7 separate regions of the Homo sapiens genome follow, and all the other regions are linked to region 4. Evidence: promoter capture Hi-C in 16 types of primary human blood cells and fetal thymus (Javierre and others, 2016). All regions are on one chromosome and are shown on one strand. Each heading gives the region's core, a stretch centred on a gene start or on the middle of the fragment in contact. The rest is flanking DNA. Distances are from core to core; before and after follow the strand shown.

Evidence for each region. The method cuts DNA at HindIII sites, captures the fragments that hold promoters and counts their contacts. A CHiCAGO score of 5 or more calls a contact.
Region 1: a fragment that was not itself captured here is called in contact with the fragment with the promoter of OR1A2 in region 4 in 6 of 17 cell types (M1 macrophages, endothelial precursors, M0 macrophages and 3 more); the score reaches 10.3 in M1 macrophages.
Region 2: a contact is called between a fragment that was not itself captured here and the fragment with the promoter of OR1A2 in region 4, in 1 of 17 cell types (M1 macrophages). The highest score is 5.2, in M1 macrophages.
Region 3: a fragment that was not itself captured here is called in contact with the fragment with the promoter of OR1A2 in region 4 in 3 of 17 cell types (M1 macrophages, M0 macrophages and M2 macrophages); the score reaches 9.2 in M1 macrophages.
Region 5: the fragment with the promoter of TRPV3 here is called in contact with the fragment with the promoter of OR1A2 in region 4 in 3 of 17 cell types (M1 macrophages, neutrophils and M0 macrophages); the score reaches 7.6 in M1 macrophages.
Region 6: a contact is called between a fragment that was not itself captured here and the fragment with the promoter of OR1A2 in region 4, in 5 of 17 cell types (M1 macrophages, M2 macrophages, M0 macrophages and 2 more). The highest score is 9.7, in M1 macrophages.
Region 7: a fragment that was not itself captured here is called in contact with the fragment with the promoter of OR1A2 in region 4 in 3 of 17 cell types (M0 macrophages, endothelial precursors and M2 macrophages); the score reaches 6.8 in M0 macrophages.

What each region holds. Positions count from the first base shown.
Region 1 is chr17:3,498,383-3,501,082 of GRCh38, forward strand. It overlaps ASPA (aspartoacylase), which reads left to right. Exons shown (of 6, transcript NM_000049.4): 6 at 509-2,700. The coding sequence ends at 706. It also overlaps a transcript of SPATA22 not described here. Among named protein-coding and RNA genes, the nearest start is that of ASPA, 24 kb to the left of the region's middle. The HindIII fragment of the contact is 281 bases long and covers 1,193-1,473 here.
Region 2 is chr17:3,582,633-3,585,332 of GRCh38, forward strand. TRPV1 (transient receptor potential cation channel subfamily V member 1) reads right to left here. Exons shown (of 17, transcript NM_080704.4): 10 at 706-798. Among named protein-coding and RNA genes, the nearest start is that of TRPV1, 25 kb to the right of the region's middle. The HindIII fragment of the contact is 1,527 bases long and covers 490-2,016 here.
Region 3 is chr17:3,537,352-3,540,189 of GRCh38, forward strand. All of the region lies in intron 6 of TRPV3 (transient receptor potential cation channel subfamily V member 3), which reads right to left. Among named protein-coding and RNA genes, the nearest start is that of TRPV3, 19 kb to the right of the region's middle. The HindIII fragment of the contact is 3,774 bases long and covers 1-2,838 here.
Region 4 is chr17:3,196,143-3,199,045 of GRCh38, forward strand. It overlaps OR1A2 (olfactory receptor family 1 subfamily A member 2), which reads left to right and starts at 1,377. Exons shown (of 1, transcript NM_012352.3): 1 at 1,377-2,306. The coding sequence starts at 1,377. The coding sequence ends at 2,306. The HindIII fragment of the contact is 7,515 bases long and covers 1-2,903 here.
Region 5 is chr17:3,556,562-3,559,425 of GRCh38, forward strand. TRPV3 (transient receptor potential cation channel subfamily V member 3) reads right to left here and starts at 1,251. Exons shown (of 18, transcript NM_145068.4): 1 at 1,115-1,251. RefSeq lists a silencer at 210-269 and enhancers at 1,451-2,267, 1,910-1,969, 2,050-2,099, 2,130-2,359, 2,268-2,864 and 2 more. The HindIII fragment of the contact is 5,895 bases long and covers 30-2,864 here.
Region 6 is chr17:3,467,384-3,470,083 of GRCh38, forward strand. SPATA22 (spermatogenesis associated 22) reads right to left here. Exons shown (of 9, transcript NM_001170698.2): 2 at 1,900-2,015; 3 at 43-171. The coding sequence starts at 1,942. Among named protein-coding and RNA genes, the nearest start is that of SPATA22, 3.1 kb to the right of the region's middle. The HindIII fragment of the contact is 927 bases long and covers 924-1,850 here.
Region 7 is chr17:3,518,717-3,521,416 of GRCh38, forward strand. TRPV3 (transient receptor potential cation channel subfamily V member 3) reads right to left here. Exons shown (of 18, transcript NM_145068.4): 14 at 2,257-2,323; 15 at 1-134. Among named protein-coding and RNA genes, the nearest start is that of TRPV3, 38 kb to the right of the region's middle. The HindIII fragment of the contact is 2,484 bases long and covers 191-2,674 here.

The DNA.
Region 1 (2,700 bases), core at 83-2,582, 300 kb after region 4:
GTCACCCAGGCTGGAGTGCAGTGGTGTGAACATAGCTCACTGTAGCCTCAACCTCTGGGGGCTTGAGCAATCCTCCCACCTCAGCCTCCTGAGTATCTGGGACTACAGGCATGCACCACCACACCCAGCTAATTTTTCGTATTTTTTCTAGAGATAGGATCTCTGTGTTGCCCAGGCTGGTTTTGAACTCCTAGGCTCAAGCGATCCACCCACATTGGCCTCCCCAAGTGCTGGGATTACAGGCAAGGAGCCACTGCACCTGGCTGAAGCAAATGTTAATTACACGTTTCAATTATACAAATGCAAAGGGGAACTCTTAAAACTACTGCCAAAATTCACGACCCAATGTCAGCGCAGTCAGATCACTTGCCTGCATCTCAATGCCTCGCTCAAGTATCTCTTTTAAAACAACAGAATACTGTAATTTGTTAGTTGTCTAGAGTCTGACATAAATTTTTAGAGGAGAAAAACCAAATATAATATATTTATTTTGATTGTTTCCTGAGAGGATCAAGACTGGAAACCACTGCATCCTGGGGATCCCATGTTTTTAACTCTTGATGGGAAGACGATCCCACTGGGCGGAGACTGTACCGTGTACCCCGTGTTTGTGAATGAGGCCGCATATTACGAAAAGAAAGAAGCTTTTGCAAAGACAACTAAACTAACGCTCAATGCAAAAAGTATTCGCTGCTGTTTACATTAGAAATCACTTCCAGCTTACATCTTACACGGTGTCTTACAAATTCTGCTAGTCTGTAAGCTCCTTAAGAGTAGGGTTGTGCCTTATTCAACTGCATACATAGCTCCTAGCACAGTGCCTTATTCGGTAGGCATCTAAGCACATTTCTTAAATTAATTAATATATCTTTAAAGATATCATATTTTATGTATGTAGCTTATTCAAAGAAGTGTTTCCTATTTCTATATAGTTTATTATACATGATACTTGGGTAGCTCAACATTCTTAATAAACAGCCTTTGTATTCAGAATATAAAATTGAAATAGATATATATAAAGTTATTTGTTTTATTGTGCTTTGCCTTACTACACTTCACGGATACTGTACTTGTACTTTTTTTCCAAATTGAAGGTTTTTGGCAACCCTGTGTCTAGAAAGTCTAACAGTGCCATGTTTCCAACAGCATGTGCTCACTCCTTGTCTCTGTGTCACCCTTTGATAATATTTCAAGCTTTTTTATGATTTATTTATTATATCTGCTATGGTGATCTGTGATCAGTGGCCTTTGATGTTACTGTTGTTAAGTGTTTTGGGGCACCATGAATCGTGCCCATGTGAGACTGCGAACTTAGTGAATGTTGTGTGAGTTCTAACTGCTCTACTGACCGGCCATTTCCTTGTCTCTCTCCCTGTCCTCTGGCCTCCCTGTTCCTTGAGACACAATAATTAATAAGTCTACAGCAGACTCTGTGTGTTCAAGTGAAAGAAAGGGTCATACTTCTAGAAATTAAGCTTAGTAAGGAAGGCATGTCAAAAGCTGAGACAGGCTGAAAGCTAGGCCTCTTGCACTGGTTAGCCAAGTTGTGAATTCAAAGAAAAGGATCTTGAAGAAAATTAAAAATTCTACTCCAGTGCACACACACAAATGATAAGAAAGCAAAACAACCTTATTGCTGATATGGAGACAGTTTTAGTGGTCTGGATAGAAGATCAAACCAGCCACACATTAAGCCAAAGCATGACCCACAGCAAGGCCCTAACTCTCTTCAATTCTGTGAAGGCTGAGAGAGGTGAGGAAGCTGCAGGAAGCTGGGAGAGGTTGGTTCACAAGGTTTAAGGAAAGAAGACAGCTCTAAAACCTACAAGTGGAAAGCGAACCAGCAAGTTGCTGATGTGGAAGCTGTAGCAAGTTATCCAGAAGATGTAGCTAAAATCATTGACAAAGATGGCTACACTAAACAACGGATCTTCAGTGTAGTTGAAACAGCCTTCTATTGGAAGAAGATGCTATCTAGGACTTTCCTAGCTAGAGGGGAGAAATGAATGCCTAGCTTCAAAGCTTCAAAGGACAGCCTGACTCTCTTAAGAGCTAACACAGCTGGTGACTTTGGGTTAAAGCCAAAGCTCATTAACTGTTTCAAAAATCCTAAAACTCTTGTTTTTTGTTTTTTTTTTGAGACGGAGTCTTGCTCTGTCGTCCAGGCTGGAGTGCAGTGGCGCAATCTCGGCTCACTGCAAGCTCCGCCTCCCAGGTTCATGCCATTCTCCTGCCTCAGCCTCCCCAGTAGCTGAGATTACAGGTGCCTGCCACCACGCCCGGCTAATTTTTTGCATTTTTTTAGTAGAGATGGGGTTTCACTCTGCTAGCCAGGATGGTCTCGATCTCCTGACCTCATGATCCGCCTGCCTCGGCCTCCCAAAGTGCTGGGATTACAGGCATGAGCCACCACGCCCGGCCCAAAAATCGTAGGACTCTGAAGACTGATGCTAAACCTGCTGTGTCTGAGCTCTATAAATGGAACAACAAAGCCTCGCTGGCAGCACATCTGTTTGCGGCATGGTTTACTGTATATTTTAAGCCCACTGTTGAGACCTACTGCTTGGGAAAAAAAAAAATTCCTTTCAAAATACTACTGCTGATTGACAATACACCATGTTACCCAAGAGCTCTGCTGGAGATGTGCGAAGAGATTAGCATTGTTTTCGCGCCTGCTACCACGACATCCAGCCGAAGCCC
Region 2 (2,700 bases), core at 3-2,502, 390 kb after region 4:
GATTGCACATGTTTGAGTTTCAGGTTAAAAATAAAACAATTCCTTGCTGGTGTGGTGGCTCACGCCTGTAATCCCAGCACTTTGGGAGGCTGAGGCAGGTGGATCACCTGAGGTCAGGAGTTCGAGACCAGCCTGGCCAACATGGTGAAACCCCACCTCTACTAAAAATACAAAAAAATTAGCCGGCTGTGGTGGCAGGCGCCTGTAATCCCAGCTACTCAGGAGAATTTTTTGAACCCAAGAGGCGGAGGTTGCAGTGAGCCGAGATCGTGCCACTAGCCTCCAGCCTAGATGACAAAGCGAAACTCCACCTCAAAAAAAAAAAAAAAAGATTCCAGTATGCAAGGAGATTTCCTTCACTGCTCAGAGCTTTAACAGATTGGTTTAATTAAAAAACTACCAGTCATGATCCTATCACTTAAGAGGCCTCCACTCTGCCCCTGTAATCAAATACTCCGTTCCGTGGAGTGGCTGGAGTGTCTACTTTCAAGCTTGCCTGCCTTGGGCCTGTGGAGACGCCCTGAGCACCCTCCCGCCCCGCGGTGACTGACTGAAGGGCTCTCATCTTCACCTCTGCGTCTCTCAGCTCCCCAAGTAGGGCTATGATGTGTCTGATGAATTAAAAAGTGAGTGAGCGCTGAGGGATCTTCTTGGCTTTTTGTTTTGGTGATAATGGAAACTCACAATGTGGGAAGGAACGCTTACCCCTCGGAAAAAGAAGTAGACTCCTCCTAACACAGACAGGATCTCTCCAGTAACTCGGAAATAGTCTCCAGTTTTTTCCATCTTAAAGGGAGGCTGTGAGATGCAGAGAAGTTGGTAACTCCATTTACTCATTCGTTCATTCAACAAACATGGACCAGGTCCATGAAGCCATAGTCCCTGCCCAGGAGGCACAGCCTCCATCAGGGGAAGGACACACAAAGACAGTGTGTTATTAGGGGAGCGCCCGCAAGGAGGCCCCTCTGTGGGCCTGATTCCCCAAAGTGGCAGCCTGCAGGTGCCAAGCGGAGCATCTTACAATGCTGTGCCGCCTCCCAAGCAATGTCCCGGCAGGCCCAGAGCTCCTCCTGGCTGGGAGCAGAGTGATGGACAGCAGGGTGATGGAGAGGTGGAAGCACTCTCATGGACCCCACGCCATACACATCCCGCTGCCACCCCAGCCCATGGCCAGTCTCCCACGAGTGTCAGGGACTCCCACTGACCATGGAGGGAGAGACTGTGCCACACACACTTGTGGGTGTCACCCTTGTATTTCAGTGGCCATTTCCTGGAGTGGGTCACCATCCACATTTCCTAAGCACTAGTTCATCAGCTTGCCTTACCAGCACATTTTTCTCTTAAAAAGAAGTCACTGGCCGGGTGCAGTGGCTCACGCCTGTAATCCCAGCACTTTGGGAGGCCGAGGCGGGCGGATCACCTGAGGTCGAGAGTTCGAGACCAGCCTGACCAACATGGAGAAACCCCATCTCTACTAAAAATACAAAATTAGCCAGGCGTGGTAGCTCATGGCTGTAATCCCAGCTACTTGGGAGACAGAAGAATCACTTGAACCCCGGAGCCAGAGGTTGCGGTGAGCCAAGGTGGCGCCACTGCACTCCAGCCTGGGCAACAGAGCGAGACTCTGTCTCAAAAAACAAAAAACAAAAAACAAAAAAAAAGAGGGAGGCTGAGGCAGGAGAATGGCGTGAACCCAGGAGGCAGAGCTTGCAGTGAGCTGAGATCACACCACTGCACTCCAGCCTGGAAAACAGAGAGAGACTCTGTCTCAAAAAAAAAAAAAATAAAATAAAAAAAAAAGGAAGTCATTATGTGGCCTTAATAGGTGGACAGAAATCGGGTTTCATGCAATTATGAAGTTGAGTTTTTAAAGTAAATGTGCAGCCGGGCACGGTGGCTCACACCTGTAATCCAAGCACTTTGGGAGGCCGAGGCAGGCGATCACTTGAGGTCAGGAGTTCAAGACTAGCCTGGCCAATACGGTGAAATCCCATCTCTACTAAAAATATAAAAATAAGCTTGGCATGTTGGTGGGTGCCTGTAGTCCCAGCTATTCGGGAGGCCGAGGCAGAAGAGTCACTTGAACCCGGGAGGTGGAGGTTGCAGTGAGCAGAGATTGCGCCACTGCACTCCAGCCTGGGTGATAGAGCGAGACTCCATCTCAAAAAAACAAAAATTAAGTAAGTAAGTAAACTTGTAAAGTGCCCTGGAAACAAAAGCAGCAAATTAAGTGTCCTGGGTATCAGACACGAAGGACTAAGTCCAGAAGTTTGATGAAGTCTTGGCTCTTGGCAGAGGAAAAAGGCTGGTCTTAGGCTGATTTGATGGATGGCCCAGGGCCTGGCACAGAGCTGCTCAAAAGTCTAAATCCAGGGAATGAATAATGAGCAAGTGAGTGAATGAAAGAGGGCAGGCAAGCAGGATGATGGTGGGCTCTGGGCTTAGACACCAGCCCACATCCCTGGGGACCCCCAGGCCAGGGGTGAGCCCTGTCCCGAGCCCAAATTCCTGCGTGATTTTTCTTTTTTTTTTTTTGAGACAGAGTTTCACTCTTGTTGACCAGCCTGGAGTGCAGTGGTGCCATCTCAGCTCATCACAACCTCTGCCTCCAAGGTTTAAGCGATTCTCCTGTCTCAGCCTCCCTGAGTAGCTGGGATTACAGGCAGGCTCCACCACACCCAGTTAATTTGGTGTTTTTAG
Region 3 (2,838 bases), core at 259-2,758, 340 kb after region 4:
TTAGATAAGTAAATAAAACTATTTCTGTGTACATATATACACACACACGTGTGGACTACAGGCCTGCACCACCACTCCCGGCTTATTTTTAAAATTTTTTGTAGAGACAGGATCTTGCTGTGTTGCCCAGGCTGGTCTTGAATTCCTGGGCTCAAGCAATCCCCCTACCTCGGAGATTTCTGTATTTCCGAATGCATCCTAATGAAAGTTAAAGACAAGTGATAGGCTGGGGAAAATATTTGAGATATATAAAAAGGCAATGTGTTTTAGGGCCGGGCGCGGTAGCTCACACCTGTAATCCCAGCACTTTGGGAAGCCGAGGCGGGTGGATCACTTGAGGTCAGGAGTTCGAGACCAGCCTGGCCCACATGGAGAAACCCCATCTCTACTGAAAATACAAAAAAATTAGCCAAGTGTGGTGGCGGGCACCTGTAGTCCCAGCTACTCAGGAGGTTGAAGCAGGAGAATCACTTGAACTCAGGAGGCAGAGATCGCGCCACTGTACTCCAGCCTGGGCTAGAGAGCAAGACTCTGTCTTTTTAAAAAAAAAAAAAAAAAAAAGGCATGCCAGGCACGGTGGCTCACACCTGTAATCCCAGCACTTTGGGAGGCTGAGGCGGGCAGATCACGAGGTCAGGAGATCGAGACCATCCTGGCTAACCTGGTGAAACTCTGTCTCTACTAAAAATACAAAAAATTAGGCGGGCGTGATGGTGAGTGCCTGTAGTCCCAGCTACTCGGGAGGCTGAGGCAGGAGAATGGTGTGAACCCGGGAGGTGGAGCTTGCAGTGAGCATGCCACTGCACTCCAGCCTGGGCAATAGAGCAAGACCCCGTCTCAAAAAAAAAATAGAAAGGCATTGTGTTTTTAAAAGTCTATAATATATTACAAGCGCCTATGAATCAATAGAAAGACAAACAGTCTAAAAGAAAACTGAGAAAAGATTATAAACAAGCACCTCACAGAGGAGAAAATACACACAGTGAATAAACAAAGTGAAAGATGTTTGGAATCACTGGTGGTCAGGAAAATGAAAATTAGAACCTAAAGAGTTAACCCTTTTCACCCACCAGACTGGAAAAGAACAAAAAAAAAAAAAAAAGGATAATTTGCAGTGTTAGTGATAAGTAGGAGAATGAGTATTTCTGTACACCGTTGTGGGGAGAGAGTAAATGAGTATCTTTTAGAGACAAATTTGGCAATAACTATTATAACTTTATTTTATTTATTTAAAAAAAAATTTTTTTTTTTGAGATGGAGTCTCCCTCTGTTGCCCAGGCTGGAGTGCAGTGGCGCGATCTCGGCTCACTGCAACCTCCGCCTCCCAGGTTCAAGTGATCCTCCTGCCCCAGCCTCCCAAGTAGCTGGGATTACAAGCGTGCCCCACCACGCCCTACTAGTTTTTGTATTTTTAGTAGAGATGGGTTTTCACCATGTTGGCTAGGCTGGTCTGGAACTCCTGACCTCAAGTGATCCACCTGCCTTGGCCTCCCAAAGTGCTGGGATTACAGGCATGAGCCACTGCGCCTGGCCACTATTATAACTTTAAATATGCATGCGGTTGAACCCAGATATTCCAATTCAAAATATTTTCTGAAACATATGTGCACCTGTGCACAGGGTCATAGACAAGATCGTGCACTGTGACATTGTCACAACACAGCTGGAAACACCTGACTGTCTGTCAGTGGGGGAGTGGTGAAATTAGCCAAGGTGCAGCCGCAATTGCAGACGAATCTGGTGAAAAGAAGCTAGACTTTCATATTTTGGCATAAGAAGTGCTCCAAGACATATGGTTAATAGTTAATCAAAAAAACCAACTTGTAGAATACAGACAGTATGATAATATTTTATGTTAAATAAATAAAACTTTTTCTGTGTGCACATATACACACACAAATGTCAAAGGCCTAGAAAACTCCACAAAGTATATGGGTAAAGGACTTAAAAAAAAAAAAAGTATGTAAAATGCTGGGCTGCTTTACAATGAAACTCTATTCATGTGACGTGGATGTTGTTAGGCTGGGTGCGGTGGCTCACGCCTATAATCCCATCATTGAGAGGCAGAGGCGGGAGGATTGCTTGAGCCCCGGAGTTACAGACCAGCCTGGGCAACATGGTGAAACCCTATCCCTGCAACAAATAGAAAAATTAGCTGGGCGGGGTGGCACGCATCTATAGTCCCAGCTACTCGGGAGGCTGAGGTGGGAAAATTACCTGAGCCCAGGGAGGTCAAGGCTGCAGCGAGTCGTGGTCGCGCCACTGCACTCCAGCCTGCCCAACAGAGTGAGAACCTGTCTCAAAAACAATAATAAAATAAAATAAAGTAAAATAATAAAAAGAAACTGTTATATTGAATCTGATGATGGATGTGTAGAGGTTTATTATTCTAATATCTTAACTTCATGTTTAAAATTTTTATAATAAAAATGTCTTAATTGAAGAATTGCTTAAAAAAGTAAAACTCTGAAGGCCTCTGATAAAATGCTTTAAAATGATATGAATAAAGTTGTGATTGGTTCCTCTTAGCAGCATAGGGAGGAAATATTCGCCCTTGCCCAGTGGGGAAACTGAGGCTCAGAGAGGTGAGGCAGTTGCCTGTAGTCCCAGCTACTTGGGATGCTGAGGCAGGAGAATCACCTGAACCCGGGAGGCAGAGGTTGTGCCACTGCACTCCAGCCTGGTGACACAGCGGAACTCCATCTCAAAAAATAAATAAATAAATAAATAAATAAATAAATAAACAAAGTCATTGCTCTAAATAAGGTTATTTTAGATACAAAAAAATGCTATGAAAATAAATGAAGATAGGGTGACAGAAAGTGACTGGGGAAGGGA
Region 4 (2,903 bases), core at 127-2,626:
GACAGTTTACTAAAGAATAGTTGAATCCACTGTGGACTTGGATTACTACAAAAAGAAATAAGGAAGACAAGGAAGAGAAGACTGCTATGGATTGAGTTTGCCCTCACCAAAACTCATGTTGAAATGTGATCCCCAGTGTGGGAGGTGTTGGGAGGTAAAGCCTAGTGGGAAGCGTTTGAGTCAAGGGGGTGGATCCCTCATGAGTGGTCTGGTGCTGTTCTCATGGTAGTAAGTGTGTTCTCATTCTCTCAAGACTGGATTAATCTTAAGGGAATGTTCCTACAGGAGTGGGTTGTGATAAAACCAGTATACTTCTCGGGTTTTCTCTCTTCCCCTGTATCCACTTCCCTGTTGACCTTCTCTGACAGGTTATGATGCAGCAAGAAAGCCCTTGCCAGAAGCCAGGGCCACGCTCTTGAATGTCCCAGCCTACAGATCCATGAGACAATTCAACCTCTTTTCTTATAAATTCCCCAGTCTCAAGTATTCTGTTATAGCAACACAAAATGAACCAAGACAAAGGCCAGTGGAAAAAGCACTGTGATTATGTATAGTTATGGGCTTTGAAAAGAGAGAAAAGCTGTCAAAAAGATAGGGAATATCTTTGAAAATCGAACACCTGTGGAGTAAGTTCACTGAGCTTGTTTTTCTAGGACCTAATGCCAGTTGTCTTTCTGTTTTAGAATCTGATGGCAGTGTAGACACCTCTGACTTCCTGGGCTCTGGGCTCACCCCGAGACTGGTTGGAGGAACAACTTTAAATTGTTCACTGCATTCCTACTATGATACATCCTTTGCACTGGAGGATTTTTTGTTTGTTTTTTTCACAAGGACTCCAAGAGGCTATCCTTTTCTTACCATGTGTAATAAAATTATTGTGTGAGTCTGGCTTTCCTATTCAATTATAAGGTCCTTGAGAACAGATGCTATGTCTTGTGTAACAAATAAGTGGATGAATAACTGTATTTTCACATATTTATTGTTTCTCTACAAAGTAAAAAAAAATCTAAGACATGAAACATGAAATTAGGTTTTTGTTATGTGATTAAATTATAGATATTAAGGTGGTGGTGCTACATTTGGAAGGACAACCATCTTTACTTCACAGATCGCTAACTTCTTTGACATGAGTGTCCAGGAGGTCAATGAGAGTTCGTCCCATTGACCAACAGAGATTTTACCCAAAAGTGCTGGCTATATTTATGATTGTAAAAACCAGGTATAGCCATGGCTAATGAAAAGTGGTGGATAAGTTTGACAGCAGGTGAATTTGTAAAATAATTAAAAACGTTTAAGTGGTAGATAAGGCAGACTATAACACACACTAACTGCGCTAATAATTCTGGGTTCCTCTCCCCTTTCATGCTGAAGAAGCCATGAAGAAAGAAAATCAATCCTTTAACCTGGATTTTATTCTCCTGGGAGTTACTAGTCAGCAAGAACAGAATAATGTCTTCTTTGTGATTTTTTTGTGCATTTACCCCATCACACTGACTGGAAATCTGCTCATCATCTTGGCCATCTGTGCTGACATTCGCCTTCACAACCCCATGTATTTTCTCCTTGCCAACCTCTCCTTGGTTGACATCATCTTCTCATCCGTAACCATCCCTAAGGTGCTGGCCAACCATCTCTTGGGGAGCAAGTTCATCTCCTTTGGGGGATGCCTAATGCAGATGTATTTCATGATAGCCTTGGCCAAGGCAGACAGCTATACCTTGGCTGCAATGGCATACGATCGAGCTGTGGCCATCAGCTGCCCACTTCATTACACAACAATTATGAGTCCACGGTCTTGTATCCTGCTTATTGCTGGGTCTTGGGTGATTGGAAACACCAGTGCTCTCCCCCACACTCTGCTCACAGCTAGTTTGTCCTTCTGTGGCAACCAGGAAGTAGCCAATTTCTACTGTGACATTATGCCTTTGCTGAAGTTGTCCTGTTCTGACGTCCACTTTAATGTGAAGATGATGTACCTAGGGGTCGGCGTTTTCTCTTTGCCATTACTATGCATCATTGTCTCCTATGTTCAGGTCTTTTCCACAGTCTTCCAAGTTCCATCTACCAAGAGTCTATTCAAAGCCTTCTGCACCTGTGGCTCCCACCTCACAGTTGTTTTTTTATATTATGGTACAACGATGGGCATGTATTTCCGCCCTCTGACCAGTTACAGCCCCAAAGATGCAGTGATAACTGTGATGTATGTGGCAGTGACCCCAGCATTAAATCCTTTCATCTATAGTCTGAGAAATTGGGATATGAAGGCAGCCCTACAGAAACTCTTCAGCAAGAGAATCTCCTCATAGCCGCTGTGAGATTACACGCTGGATACTGTAATGACCAAGTGGGATACACTTGGAAATCCAGCTCCAATGTCATTGCCCTTCAAGAAGCTCCTTTTGTTCTTTTGAGCCAGAAATTCCTCTACCAGAAATCTTGTAACGGATGTGATATTTTATTGAAATTATCACTTTGGACAAATTCCTGCTCTTTTTTGAGAGAGTGGCAGGCTGGGAATATCAGGTTCATGTCCCAGTTAGCAGAAATTTACTAGCAGAGTAAAGTTGAAAAAGTCTGAGTCTCAGCTTGCATATCTACATGTTAGGAAAATAATATCTGCCGGACTCTCTGACACAGCTTGTGTATATCAAAATGGCTCATGCTTTGAAGGCTGCAAATTACTATTCTAATGTAATCTTTACTGGACTTTTATGTCTAGCCACCCCTACTATACTTGTACTCTGGTGGCAAAAGCTGTGTTAACATATCACTTACTTTTTTAGTATTTTGATCATATAAAATATTGGTGGAAAGCAGGAAAATGTATAAAAATATTAGTTTCTGAAATACAATCTGATAATGAATAAACATAATCAAACTGCATAGTATTCATTCATGTATTA
Region 5 (2,864 bases), core at 1-2,500, 360 kb after region 4:
GGCCACTGGTGATCCTACCCCAATAGGAAAGCTTCCTGGAGGAAGTTTCCGGAGCCAGGTGTCATCAGGCTGGAGAGAGTCCCCCGCCCTCCAACTCAAAGGGAGCAGGCTCAGGATGGAGGAGGCATCGGCGAGGGAGAGCTTTGGCCCTGGAGCGTAGGCAACCTTGAGGCCAGGCAGGTGGAGTAGCCCACAGAGAGGGACTCCTGGGCACCCGGCCCTCCCGTGTCCAGTCACGGCCTGATGAGGATGGGCAGCCTCTATGGCTTTCCCCATCCCCACGTGGCCTTTGGTGGACTAAAAGGCTGGGATGCACCGAGCGTGAAGGAGACAGAAGAAGGGCACGTCTCTTGCCCCTCCCAGGGCCTCTGGTTTCCTTTCTGAGAAGTGGGCTGAATGGTCCCCAAGGACTCTGTGGCCCTGAGAGCTGGTTGCTCTCTCTCTTCTCTGGGCCCGAGAATGTGGCCTGCCCTGGGCCTCTGGGGCAGGAGAGGCTCAGGGAACTCTGGACTAGGGCCGCAGCAGCTATCATTAGCTCCCTGAGTCACCCCGTAAACCCCACGTTCTCACCTGCTGGACTCTCTTGTTGCCCTGGCCCTCCCTCTCTCTCCCAATCCCTGACACTGATTGAAATGGCCTTTCCCGGGCGACAGACCAGGCCGCGGAGCCACAGCTGCTGACTCAGCACCTGTGAGATGCCTGGGCCCCGTCTGTCTCCCACGGTGGGGCCACCTCCTCCCATCCTGAACTCCCATCACAATCCTGCCCCAGAAAGCCACCTCCCTGGGTCAGCCTCGGGAGGCAGGAGCCTCTCCTCTGCCCCCAGCAGTGGTGAGATTGAGATGTCCCTCCCCAGGATTCCCAAACCTCAGGGGAATGTTCCTGAGTCTGTAAGGACCTATATTCTCACACATCCCTACAGCCAAGAGTGCAGCCAAGAGTGCCTCCCTACAGCCAAGAGTGGGCCCCTGGCTGGGGCCCAAGCTCCTTCCAACCCTCCTCCCAAGGCCTATTGGCCAAGGGCAGACATGGCCCAGAGGACCTCTGAGGGCCACGCTCTGGGCTCCCCAGGGGCCTTGGAGATCACCAGCTGCCTTGTGCACAGAAGACTCACCTGGTGAGGTTCTGGGTGGTCGTGGCAACCCTTGCCCTGAGATCACCGCATGTCTGGGGCCCAAGGCCCCCGGGTGGGACTGTGGCTGAGGCGGCGGGAAGCTCTCATTGCAGGCAGAGGGATGGCTGGAATGAGGCGTCAGAGGCAGAACTGGCTGAGCCACCTGCCCTCGGCGCCAGGCAGGCCACGCCCACCAGCCACAGCTGCAGCACCCGCCCACCCACGTGGCCCGTGTGAGTCACCCCCACACCCACACAGCAGCCTCATCCCCACCGGAGAAAAGGCAGGGGAGGCCGCAGGTGCCAAGATCGAAGTTGTGGGTCCAACTCCTCCCTCTCTGGCATTCCATGCTGGGCAGGGACTGCCCATCTCAGGCCTATTTTTCCAACTAGGAAATGGGAATGATAACATCTACTTTCCAAGGGAGCCGTGAAGAGCCAAAGAGATCACAGAGGTGGGAGGGCCTAGTGAAGAGTCAAGCGCTCTGCTCTGTCCCCTGGGAGGGAAGACCGCAGCCCAGGCCTAGCCTGGTTGACCTCAGGGTGGCCAGCCCCAAGACTCGGCACTTGTTCTCAAAAGTCGGTTCCTGGGATCAGGTCTCTCGGGGACGGAAGTCCCCATTTAATGCTGTCCACCAGCAGTCACGCATCATGGCCCTTAGTGTCAGCCTCACCCCTTCCTGGCTGAATGACCTTAGCAGGTCATTTCTCCGAGCCTCAGTCTCCTCATCTGTGAAACGTGCTTCATAAACCCACTTTGCAAGGTTATCGTGGGGCTTCAACAAGTACAAGTAGAAAGGGCCAGAACAAGGCCCAGGGCACGGCAAGAACTCAATAAACAATGTCAGCTCTTAGCTATGATTGCTTTTGTCATCTCAATGTATTCTCCCAGCAACTGCCCAGGTTGCCCTTCTCCAAGGCCAGGGCGTCATAGAAGGAATCGGTGCCCTCTCTCCTGGCCCAGGCTGCAGCTGTGAAGTGGGTGGAGTGAGTCAGGATGGCCGTGTGTGTCTCGCGTCACTCAGGAACTGCACACCTGCTCCCCGGGGCGAGATGTGGACAAGACACAGCTGGGACAGAGCAGGAAGTCTCTGCTGACGCGGCCGCAGCTGGCGCCTGATGGGCAGGGAAATCCCCAGCTGTGAGCCTCTCAATCCCTCATCATCACAACCTGCCTGGCCTGGGGAGGAGGCAGGAGGCAGGTGAGGCTTCTAGGCCACGGGAGAGCAGGACCTATGGCCGGTAAGGGGCAGACCAGACTTGAGGGTGTGGGTGAAGCAGGAGACCGCTTCTGCCGTTGAAGTCAGGGGGTCCTGAAGTTCCCACTCACAATCTGAAATCTCATGACTGTGCCTGAAACTCGACCGGAAAAGCCCGATCTGGGGTTGAGCACGGCCTCCGGCCACTAGCTTACTCACCCTCTCCCGACCCAGCCCCGCGCCCTCCCTGTTTGCCTCTGGCGGCTCAGACGCCTGGGGAGGAAGCTGCTGCCAAATGTCAGTGCTTCCATTTTGCTCGTGTTCATAACTTTTCTCAGAGGGCAGGTGGGAGCTGGTGAAAAAGGCCCCTGTCTCCCACCCAGAGGTGTGCCCTGTGCCCAGCAAGGAAGAAGGGGACCCCCGCTCTGCTATGAGAGGCAGCAGGAGCCAGGTCACCCAGTGGAGTCACAGTCACTACTTAGGAAGCCCGAGCCCATCCTAATCCCACCCCAAACACACAGAAGCAGCAGCTTCAGCCCCTTAGATGGTCTA
Region 6 (2,700 bases), core at 137-2,636, 270 kb after region 4:
TTTTGTATTTCCTGAAAATTTTTACCTTATTAATTTTCTTACCTGTAGGTAGAGGAGGAAAATCATAATTGTCAGAAGGGGTACTGATACCTGAATCATCTTTAAGTGGATTAGAAGTTAATGGCTGTCTGTTCCTCTTTTTCTGATTGAACAACGGAACAGGCAAACAGCCTAAATTGAATGTACCAATAAATTAGTACATAATAGACAAATAAGCAGATCTAGTTGTAAAATAATTACTAGTATAATACACACTTTACATTTATCTACTTCTATATGCTAATATACTTATAGATTTCTATAACCTTAGAATGATTTTTACATTCTTTTTAAGATCCTGAATAGCCTAATTTGTTTCTTCAAAAAACTTTTCTTATTCTACTCTAACAGTTTTAATTCCTCCCATATGGAAGTAATTCCCATCTCCCCCCTCATCCCCCAACCTTTCCAAATCCACTTTTTGTTTTCCTTATCCCCCTCCTGTGCTTGCCTGTTACCATATCGACTGCAGGGGACCTTTGAAGTACAACAGAGGTGAGGAAGAACCAAACTCTGAACCATGCTTTGGACAATAGTGGCACACCCTTTTGGGCCTTGGTTCTCAAAGTTTCATTGGACTAAGATTTATCTGGAATTCTGCTTAATGTGCAGTTCCTAGACTCCACTCTCATAGATTTTATTTCAACAGATTTAGCCTGGAACTCAAAACTCTGCAATTTTAACAAGCACCTCGGGTATCTGTAATTATATATTTTGTGGATCATTTTGAGAATGCCTTAAAGAGTAATAATATCCAGTCCAAATGAGAATAAATACTACTACCGATTCCTCCAGATGGCGGATCTAGGATCTCAATTCAGGTCAAAAGTCACAAAATATAAACTTTGAAACTTAGGGAACTCGAAGGGAAAAGAAGTTCAAAAAGCTTGTGCATTGCTATAGAGCAAGTCAGTGGAAGAATCTAGATAGGACACAAGATTCCTAAATATCAGTTTGGATCTCTTGCCACTGTACCATTCTCTAACTGGTCATCATCAATTGTTCTACAGGCAAATACAGACTCTGTGAACAGTCTCTGATGAAAGGCTGGGAGAATTATGTGGGCTCTGGAATCAGACCGCCTAGGTCTTGAATTATGACTTCAAAGTAGGTTTGAATTACAATTTCAGAGTATGATCTTGGGCAATTTCCCTAAACTCTTTGTGCCAATATGACATATACTGATAGCATAATGATTAAGAGCATGGACTAAGAGCCAGATTCCTAGGTTCAAATTCTGATTCTGCTACTTCATGGATTACTTATTTAACCTCTTTTAGCCTTGTTTTTCTCATCTGAACAACAGAAATGATTATAATAACCTATCTCAGGGTATTGGTGTAAAGATTAAATAAATTAATATATATAATTAATGTCTTGAATACAGTTAATCCACCATAAATAATAGTTACTATTATCTTCATTATGCATCATCATTCCCCTGGTTCTCATCATCCTTGCCATCTGTCTTTATACTAATAAATTGGGAAAGCAAAAATGATAGGAGAAGCTATTAGAAAGACAGAAGTGCTTCCGGAAATATTTTTAACAAGTAAGTCACAAATACAAACAAAAATAGATCTATTTCTTTGTTTTCAGTTTTAAAGCATAGAATAACTCAAGCACATCGAATTTGTAGAAAGAATATCAAAATAAATCTAAGAAACTTTGATCTTACTCCCACCTCTACCACTAAATGTTTTGTCTTGAGTAAGTTATTTTACTTCCTTGGACCTAAAAAGTAAAGAGGCTAGATTAACTGTTCAATCTATTTTAAATTTATTTCCAATGTTATATCTATAAACTATACAAGCTTTATATGCTATACAGAAAATTTAAAAATAAAAAGTTGTTCAATACCTGCTGTACTTCGAGCTGAATTTTCATTTAGGCTTCGCTTCATTTCCTTCAATATCAAAATCTATAATTTTCTATTCAGCATTCCAAATTTATAATATGACATTGTCCCACTAGACCTGCAAAGAAAGAAACTTATAACTCGTATTGTCTCAACTATAAAACCCAATCCTCAGCCCAGTGATTACTGAAATTATGGTTGTAAACTACTTTCAAACCTGATCACGTAAACACTTTAGGGAGTCCTTTGCTTTCTAAGAGTTTACACCATAATCCACTTTTCCAACCCTGTTCAAATTAAGTTATGACTAGGGCAACTGTAACCTTGCTTCGTAAACATATGTGCATTTTTTCACACAGTATATGTAATTTATTTCAGAATCCCGCACCCACAAAGAGAATTCTGAACCACACCTACAAAGAGGAAAATGGACCACAGCGTTGGCAAACGTACATGCTTCCAAGGCCAAGGAGGAAACACAGTATTTAGCCACCGGGAACTTCCTCCATGCCCCACTTTAAGGCATTGTGCAGGACATCTGCCTTTGCATCAGTTTGAAATGCCTGGATTATATAATATCAAAGACTAAGTCTTCCTGAGGTCAGGAGTTCAAGACCAGCCTGGCCAACATGGCAAAAGCCCATCTCTACTAAAAATACAAAATTAGCCAGGAGTGGTGGCGGGCGCCTGTAATCCCAGCTACTCGGGAGGCCGAGGCAGGAGAATCGCTTGAGCCCGAGAGGCCGAGGTTGCAGTGAGCTGAGATCGTGCCACTGCACTCCAGCCTGGGCAACAAGACCCAG
Region 7 (2,700 bases), core at 183-2,682, 320 kb after region 4:
GGAGTTCTGCTGGATGTTCAGGTCACCCAGGCCTATGGTGAGCTTGAAGAGTTCCAGCACTGCGTCGCTGAAGCTGCCGTAGGAGCTGCAGTCCTTGTTGTCTTTGGGACACTTCTCGATCAGCGAGGCCAAGGCTAAGGGAACATAACAGGGTGCTCTCCTCAGCTCTCTGCCTGGTAATTACTCTACAAGCTTGCGTGTATTTGCCTACATGACAAGCCTGCTGCCTCCTTCTCTCTGGCCATTAAATCCCATCTCCAGTTTCAGGTCCTCTCAAAGCCTCATCAGGCTGGCTTCTCTGGCCTGGCCTCCTGCAGAAAGCCCTTCCACCTAACAAAGCCCAGAGTCTTCTCTCCTTCCTTTACCCCGCAGTCTGCCCTTGATCACTTGCAGCCTTGCAGAGCCACTAATTATAATCCATGTGTGTGTCCCTGGCTCCCCAGCTAGTCTTTGAGCTCCTGACTTCCTCTAGCCTGGGTCACCTCCCTCAAGGCTGTAAGATCCTGAGTCTCCTCCTAATGCTCTGTTTTGAGTTCCCTGTGAGCAAGACCAGGCTCACACTTCCCTTCTTTCCAACACACCACAGTAGAGGTTCACTGCTGAATGGTTGGATGGATGGATGGATGGATGGATGGATGGATATGGAGGGATGGATGGAGGGATGGATGATTAGATGGAGGGATGGATGGATGGATGGATGGATGATTGGATGGATGGATGGATGGATGGATGGATAGATGATTAGATGGATGGATGGATAGATGATTGGATGGATGGATGGATGGATGGGTGATTAGATGGATGGATGGATGGATGGATAGATGGATGGATGGACCAATTGATCGATGGATGGATGGATGATTAAATGGATGAATGGATGGATGACTGGATGGATGGATGGATGGATGGATGGATGATTAGATGGATGATTAGATGGATGGATGGACTGATTGATCGATGGATGGATGGATGATTGGATGGATGGATAGATGGATGGATGGATGGATGGATGGATGGATGGATGGATGGATTGATGGATGAATGATTAGATGGATGGATGGATGGATGGATAGCTGGATGGATGGACCGATTGATCGATGGATGGATGATTAAATGGATGAATGGATGGATGACTGGATGGATGGATGGATGGATGGATGGATGGATGGATGATTGGATGGATGATTAGATGGATGGATGGATGGATGGATGGATGGATAGATGGATAGATCAATGGATGGATCGATGGATGAATGATTGGATGGATGGATGGATGGATGGATGGATGGATGGATGGACGGATAGACAGGTGGATGAGCAAATTAAATGAGAGAGTAAATAGATGGATGAATAAACAAGCAGGTGAAGGAGCAAATAAATAAGCAAATTGTGACCCAGAAAAGGTACCAGACAGATGGAAACAGCTACTTAATTTCAAATGTCAATGGTCACTGAAGAAAAGAAAAAAAAGCAACTGGTACGTGGGGGAAAATGATATCTCTCTATGCAGAGGTTAGAAATACAACCAGATCGTGCTGTTCCCTCTGTTGTAAATGGAGAGATTTTAAGAGGGGGCTCCTTCCTGGTCCCAGCAGACCAGAGAGGCTCTCACAGTTGTATCTAAAGCAAACTGTGAGAGTAACGTGATGTGAAATCCAAAGGAAATCACCTCAGGGTATTAGTTTGCTCCTACTTTGCAAAGACCATCAGTTGAGTTTCTGTGGACTTTAGTTTCCGCATCTGTTAAAATGGGGCTGAAAACACTTGCAGAACCTATCTTAGGTCGTGAGGGCCACGTAAGCAATGAATGGGAAAGCCAGAGGTATATACCACATGGTGAAGTTGGATTATGAGTGGCTGGCCTGGTTTGAATCCTGGAGTCTCTAAGCCTCAGTTACCTTATGATCGGGGTGATGATTCCCACTTGATCAAGTTGTTGAGAGAAGTAAAAAGGTAATGCTTGATTAGGAGATATACCTAATGTAAATGACGAGTTAATGGGTGCAGCATACCAACATGGCACATGTATACATATGTAACAAACCTGCATGTTGTGCACATGTACCCTAGAACTTAAAGTATAATAAAATATATATGTATATATATAAAGGTAATGCTTGGAAAATGCCAAGCATGGCAAGTGCCCCACTGGTAGTTGGTCTAATTGTTGCCAAGGCCGCCATGCACTTTGCCATTTTGACATCTGTATAAAGTGTTTATAAATGTGGGAGTTACTATTATTTATAAATCAATTACCTACTCCAAATCCAAGCAAAAACACGATATATACAAACAAGAACTTCAGAACATCATGCAAAATGACCTATAAGGAAATAAACATAATTCAAGTGTAAGGTGCAAGCACATATTCACGGCACCCTGATCTTCCTGCTTCCCACCCTCTCCCACCCCCCACCCTAACTGTCTCTTCACTTGGGCCACTCTCCCTTCCCCCAGCCAAATCCTCCTGATGCTCCAAGGCTCAACACTGGATCCTGCCTCCTCCAGGAAGCCTTCTGTTTCTGCTCCAGCCCCAGGTTCTCTTCTCCCTGTGATTCACCCTGTACCTTTCACCATAGGGTCTCACACTGGAATCCTCACACTTGCTGGGGGCAGTGGCATGCTGGAGCCAGCTCAGAAGAGCTCGCAAGAGCTGATCGTTAAATTCTCATGAAGCTTGTGAGCTGGTTGTTAAACACA